2 separate regions of the Homo sapiens genome follow, and region 2 is linked to region 1. The links are contacts of gene promoters, found by promoter capture Hi-C in blood cells and fetal thymus (Javierre and others, 2016). All regions are on one chromosome and are shown on one strand. The core of a region is centred on a gene start or on the middle of the fragment in contact, and the rest is flanking DNA. Distances in the headings are between cores, read along the strand shown. Region 1 holds the start of VPS26A (VPS26 retromer complex component A). Region 2 overlaps HK1 (hexokinase 1).

Region 1 (3,482 bases), core at 366-2,865:
GGAAGGCTGACTCTCAAAATTCATTCACTTAGCCCATACACAAGCAATGAAACAGCAAATTTTCATACATATATTACATCTGTGACCATTTCAGTGTTTTAAAGTTTTACAATTTAGTTTCTGTTTGGGTAACTTGAAAATATAAACTGCTCTTGAACATAATTCAAAAAAGCGTATTAAAAGTAATAATTACAAATGTAAGCAAAAAATAGGAGGACCTTTTAAGTTTTCTTTTCAAATGATATTCAATTAAAGAAGCCTGCCCTAACACTGACTAGGCAAGGTCCCCCAATACTTCCTTCTTAGTATCTGTCACAATTCTAATTTCCACGTTAAACAAATAATTTACACAAATAAATGTTTATCTCTCCCTACATTGTAAGCTACGAGAGCAGGTAGGCGCTGTTTCCATTTTACTGGGGTCCCCTAGGCACACCTGAGCAATTATTTGTTGAATGAAAGAAAAAAAGCTCTAAGAATGAACATGAATGTCTGGATTTTGTTTTGTTTTGTTTTGAAAGCAACATCATTACTGAAATTAAAAGTTATTTATTCAAAGTAGCTTTTTAAAAATATACCTGGCTCGGCCTTTTAAGCCAAAAGTCTCAAGCAGTCTATTGAATCAGTGAGCTTTGGGAAGAGCAGGTAGTATTAGGAGAGCATACAGTAGGCGCTAAATGAAGAGAACTGACGACTACTACCAGAAAATGGGTAAAATGAGATCTAACCTAGAGACTGCCGACACCCAGCTAAATACCACAATGCCCAGGCTAGTGCTTCCGCGGACTGTGGTGAGAGCACTGATTCCCCTCCCTCCTCTGCCTCATAGGCCGTTTCAACAACCCAGAGCGTTAAGTTCAGCGAAATAGCTTGCGGACGGAAATGAGAGCCAATGCTTAAAACGGCGGGCACCAAACGGGTGTCTCTGGAGTTAAAGATATCCCCCATTCCAACGTCCTTTTATTTTTCTCTCCCATTTTACAAGTGTCAACAGAAAGCCTGAACTGGGGTCATGAAATCAAAGAATGTCACCATAGTCAGGTTTTAAAATATCAGAGTTTATCAAGTTCGTGACACACTGAGTGCCCAAGTCCCCCGAAGAGTCCGGAGGTGGGGGGCTCCCGGGTCGCCCCACCTGGATGGAAGAGAGGCTGCCCGGGAGGAGAACAGGGACTGGCTACCTAGGAAGGGGAGGCGGCGACCAGCCCCCGCAGAGGCGGGGTCCGAGTCCCCAGCCAGAGCCCCAACAAGCAGTCGAAGAACGCGGGCAGAGGCTCCGACATGGCCAGGAGAGCACGCCGCCGCCCGTAGGTGCTCGGGCCTCGCCGAGACCGGGAAGAGGTGGCGCCGCCAGCTTTTCCCAGACCCAGGGGTGGCCCGACAGGCCTAACCCCGCTCCCCGCCCTGCTCCCCCGTCCCCTCCTCCGGCGACGCCCGGCCCGCGGTTGGCCGGCCCGCCGCGCGCTCCGGGACGAGGGCGGGAGGCGAGCGCGCTGGCCGCCGCGCACTCACCATTGTCAACGCCGCCGCCGCGTCCCCCCTACTCCACTCCTCTTCCCTCAGGAGAACTCCCAGCCCCGGCTCCCTCCGCTCCGGCGCTCCGTCACGTGACCTCGGGCCGCCCCTCACACGTGACCGCTCCCTTCCTCTCCCCCACCCCCGCACCCGTCCCTCTCCCAGCCTCCTGCCCCGCCCTGCTGGCCGCCAGGCACTCCGGGGAGAGGCCGCTTGGAGGCGGGGCCTCAGGCTCCACCCTTCGGAGGGTGGAGAGGGGCGGGCAAATTACGTCGAGTGGGCGGGGCCTGAACAGAGGCGGGTTCGCGGGCTCCTCCTCGCCGTCTCTTCGGTCACCGGACGAGCGGTTCCGTGTCCGGCCTCTTTACCGCACCCAGTTCCTCTTTGTGAAAGTTTGAGCGGCTGGGAAGGAAGGAGGAGAGGAAGGATTCATCTGGAGGCTCTCTCCTTGGCTGGGTCCTTGGGTTGCCGAGGCGAGTGGGAGCCCTACTTCCTTAGGCCTCGCAAGAAGAGATGTGCTCTCTTCGTCCACGGCGAGGCGTTCTGCCACCTTGCCTGAACGCAGTCCCGCTCCACCTCCTTCTGAGTCTGGGTTTTCTTAACTTGGCTTTCTCGCCTCTGAAGAGAAGACCAGTAGAAAAAAATCCTAGGGTACAACTTTCATTGCTTCCCAAAGTCCCCAGATGGCCCCTGAGCGACCCACCCTGAGCCTGGAGGGCTCACAAACCCACCGTTCCGCCCAGCCGTTCTGAGAGGGCAAAGGCGCTCCCCCGAAAGTCCCACGGCGCAGCTGAAGACTACGCTGGCCTGAACTGGATCCTCCTCCCTAGTGTAAGCCTATAGGACCTCCAGATGAGGAAAATACTGTGTGGGATTTCAGAGTATAGTGTTGAAGGGCCACAGTGCACTCTATGCATAACCAAAGCAGAAGAAAAATCCATCCCTGAACGCACTATAATTACCCCACCTTAAAACAGAAGTTTGTGAGGCGAGTCCATGAAACAGGTATCAAAAAAAATTTTTTTATACTTAATCCTCAGTGTGAGCCTCAAATTTAAGAGGATTGAAATCAGAGTATCATCTCTAACCGCAATAGAATTAAAATTAGAAATCAACCCAAACAAGCCAGAAAATTCCGGAAATATTGGAAATTAAGCAACATAATTCCAAATCTCTAGGTCAAAGAAGAGATCAATGGAAATTTAAAAATAAGTTGAGGCCGGGCACGGAGGCTCACACTTGTAATCCCAACACTTTGGGAGGCCAAGGCAGGTGGATCACCTGAGGTCAGACACGAGTATCTCTTGAATCCGGGAAGCGGAGGTTGCAGTGCCCGAGATGGAGCCACTGCACTCCAGCCTGGGCGACAGAGCAAGACTCTGTCTCAAAAATAAAAAATAATAAAAATAAAATAATTTGAAATAAAAGATAATAATACAACATATCAAATTTGTGGAATGCAGTGACACTGTGTAAAAGGAAAATTTGTAGCTTTAAATGCACATATTTGGGCCAGGCATGGTGGCTCACAGTCTATAATTCCAGCACTTTGAGAGGCCGAGGCGGACGGATCACTTGAGGTCAGAAGTTTGAGACCAGCCTGGCCAACATGGCGAAACCCCGTCTCTACTAAAAATACAAAAATCAGCGGGGCATGGTGGTGCACGTCTGTAATCCTAGCTACTCGGTAGGCTGAGGCAGGAGGATCACTTAAACCTAGGAGGCAGAGATTGCAGTGAGCCAAGATTGCGCCACTGCACTCCAGCCTGGTGACAGAGCGAGACTCCATCTCAAAAAAAATAAATAACTATAGTAACACTGATATTGTTGTCTGTTTGAACTGTGAAAAGAAAGCAGCAAAAACAATGCAAATCTTTAATTAATAAAAGTGAAAAATGGTTTTTTTCACTTAGAAGATTTGCCTGTCACCTTGAGAGCTACTCTGGTTCCTACCCACTCTTTTCTGG
Region 2 (3,482 bases), core at 12-2,511, 220 kb before region 1:
AGGTTGCAGTGAGCCGAGATCATGCCACTGCACTGCAACCTGGGCGACAGAGCGAGACTGTCTTAAAAAAAAAAAAAAAATCTGTCTCCTATTCAATTTCCAAAGAGAACCGGTACTGGTTAATCTCTGTTCCCTGATATCTTCATTCTCCCTAGTAATCATTTACTGTTCCCTGTCTCCTGCCTCCCCTCTGAAAAGAGGAAATGTGTGGCCGGGCGCAGTAGCTCACACTTGTAATCCCAGCACTTTGGGAGGCCGAGGCGGGTGGATCACCTGAGGTCAGGAGTTCGAGACCAGCTTGGCCAACATGGCAAAACCCCGTCTCTACTAAAAATACAAAAATTAGCTGGGCATGGTGGCAGGTGCCTATAATCCCAGCTACGTAGGGGGTGCTAAGGCAGGAGGATCGCTTGAACCATCGTGCCACTGCACTCCAGCCTGGGCAACAGAGCAAGACTCCATCTCAAAAAAAAAAAGGAAAAGAAAAGAGGAAATGTAAGTATCTGGGCCCCACCGGGATACTTGAGTAATCAGTCTGTGATTCTCCCACATGCATGTTAATAAATGTGTATGCCCTTTCTCCTATTAATCTGCCTTTTGTGAGCTGATTTTTCAGCCAACATTCAGAGGGCAAAGGGGACGTTTTCCCTTGCTCCCTACAGTAGCTTTGAAGAGGGAATTCTATTTAGCCAAATCACCAATGTTAAGAGGCTTCAATATTTTCCTTCTTTATTATTCATTCATCCACTACCTCAAAAATGATATGCAGCAGCAAAAAGCCACTTTAGGTTTTTGGGGTTTTTTTAATGATATACAGATTATTGAAGAACAACTAAAAAATAAAAATAAAAACAGGCCAGGTGAGGTGGCTCACGCCTGTAATCCCAGCACTTTGGGAGGTGGGAGGATCGCCTGAGCCTAGGAGTTCAAGACCAGTCTGGGCAACATGGCAAAACCCTATCTCTACAAAATACCAAAAACAAAAACCTCACTGCCCATTAAAAAAAAAATGACCAAAAAAGAAAGAAACTAATTAAAAATGGGCTGATAGGTATCAGAATGTATGTATCAGATATGTTTTCAGAAATGCTTCTGGAAAGTCAGTTGAGTTCCAAAACTCTGTGTCTAGTCGACCAGGGTCAAGGTCAGCAAGAAAGGAAAGGCTTGTTTCCTTCCTTTGCCTTGGAAATCACATCACCACTTAGGCATTGCTCCACCATGGTGAGCGCCAATTTATCCCTCCGTGGTTTGGGATTACCACTAATTCTGTCACTAATTACTACAGTTGAAGCAGTGATTAACATTTCAAAAAGGGAACAGCACTATGGATTTACTATTAAGAGACCCAGATTCTGATTACTGCAGGGATCTCCTGATTCTTGGATGATAAAGGAGCCAAGAGGCAGGGGGAGGTGAAGACAGAAGCCCGGCACAACACGAAGGGGCAGGAAGTGGACTGGGGGTTGGGTATCCAAGTCCTTAGCATCAACAGCAATGTCTTTGCGGGGCTGTAGGGACCATTGCAAGCGAAGTGTGGGCTCTGGGGCACATGAACTGAACCCACCCATAAATATTTGGAATGGGGGGGTGCCGTTTCTATGAATCTCTAAAAGGGGGTGAAAAATACATTTCACAAATGAGTATGAGTTCTAAGCCTTGTTTGGAGGAGTAGCCAATATGGCAAATGGCTGGATTTCTACTGCACTTGGATCACACCTTGAGACTCTCAATCCTGGAAACAGTTTGTGAAGGAGAGGGAGAGCACCCCTGCTGACATAGGTCCCTGGGACACAGCTGGCTTGAGAGCAGGGCCCAGTGGGTAGGAGGCAAAGTGTCTCCTCCCCTGTGTCTGCCCTGAGCCAGTCACACAGGGCCAGGTGCCTCGCAGGGATCAGGTAGCCTTCTGAGCTCTCCCAAGCAAAGCCAAAGCAGGTGCTCTCCTGGGTGCTGCCCATACCCCCTCCCCTCCCCGCTCCTTCCTCTTCTCTCAGCTGGAAGCAGTCAGAGCCATGCCTCTGCTACATAGCTCTCCTCATCCTGGAAAGGTTCCAGTGCTCCTGGCTGTAGGTGACATCCATGGCTGGGAAAAAGCAAGAGTGAACTATATATAAAGTTCTTTCTTCTCCAGCCAGAGACAAGCGAACACACCCAGGGTAGACCACAGTCTATTCACTCTGATGGCCAGAATCTCTTCAGTAGTTCTTAAAAAGCTAGAAGTAGGTGCTAGTAATCAACACCTAAACAAAAGGGTGGAGGTGGAGTAGGCTTACATCAGAGATATACATGCTAATATGTGAGCATGAAGTAGACCCCACCCGTGGCCACAGTGAACAGCACAAGGCCTCTTTATCAGCGTCCAAATCTCATTCAGGATGACTGCAGGCAGAGAGCAGAGGTCTTTTCCTGCTGCAACCAGCCTACTCCCACTTGCCCATCTTTCAAGAACATCAGTTGCAACAGCTGCAGTTTCCTGGCGTCCATTTTGCAGGCTGCATACAAGATGCCCCAAATCACTCCTTTAAATAAGAGCCTCGAGAGCAGGGAAGAAATCGCAGGGGTGTGTGAAAGCTGTACTCACTGGTCGTGTACTCACAACCCCAAGGGAAACCTGACTTCCTCCTGCTCTCCCTCCCTCTGCTGCCTACAGCAGGTGAGCCCCACCCTAGAGCACAGAACACAGCTAACAGGGGATTCCTGTGAGGGCGCCACGCTGGAGCAAGCACAGCATTCACCTCCACAAACTAGTAACTGCGGGTCTGCCGGGAAGAACAGCTTCCACTGAGCAGGCCAGACTGCGACTTCTCAGTCTCCGCTCAGCCAGGTGCAGGGGCTGATACCACTCCTCTGGGGAGGAGAAACAGACAATCCTCAGGGGGCCCTCCCCCAACGCCCCACTGCAGGGTATGAGCCACAGGATGCAGAGTGAAAGGATACAATTTTTCTTTCAATTCTACCTCCCCTCTGTATTTCTTTGTTTTGGGGGCTGCCTCAATTCTGCATCTGTGAAATCTGTCCAAAGGGGGTCTGGAATCTCTGCCTTTAAGTCTGAGACCCACCTGTCCATTAGGATTGCTATTATCTGGGATAAGAAGAGAGGGAAGCTTTGATTCCCTGATGGAGAGATTTCCCTAAAATGAACCCTTCATTTGTTCTGGAGTTCTTCATGTTCTGAAGACATAAGAGCAACCCACACAGTATCTGCGAGACCCATAAACACTACACTTTCTAAAGTATCACAAGCCACTAGACAGTAAAGTCAATGACAGCAGGTCAGCCTTGCCCAACCATGGTATCCCCAGTGACTGGCATAAGGTCTCAGTAGACACATATTGGATGGATGGATCAGCGGATGGATGGATGGATGGATGGATCAGCAGATGGATCAGCGGATGGATGGATGGATGGATGGGAGAGCAGATTGATGGAATGGTGAATGAATGAATGAGCAAATGTATGAACAAATGAAGTTAGAAGGAAGATTT

Evidence for each region. The method cuts DNA at HindIII sites, captures the fragments that hold promoters and counts their contacts. A CHiCAGO score of 5 or more calls a contact.
Region 2: a fragment that was not itself captured here is called in contact with the fragment with the promoter of VPS26A in region 1 in 1 of 17 cell types (monocytes); the score reaches 5.7 in monocytes.

The regions. Positions count from the first base shown.
Region 1 is chr10:69,122,311-69,125,792 of GRCh38, reverse strand. VPS26A (VPS26 retromer complex component A) reads right to left here and starts at 1,615. Exons shown (of 9, transcript NM_004896.5): 1 at 1,513-1,615. The coding sequence starts at 1,515. RefSeq lists enhancers at 651-1,157, 2,022-2,381 and a silencer at 1,362-1,761. The HindIII fragment of the contact is 9,705 bases long and covers 1-3,482 here.
Region 2 is chr10:69,344,038-69,347,519 of GRCh38, reverse strand. The region is part of intron 2 of HK1 (hexokinase 1); the gene reads right to left. Among named protein-coding and RNA genes, the nearest start is that of HK1, 27 kb to the right of the region's middle. RefSeq lists a silencer at 2,516-2,645 and an enhancer at 3,250-3,482. The HindIII fragment of the contact is 3,685 bases long and covers 1-3,103 here.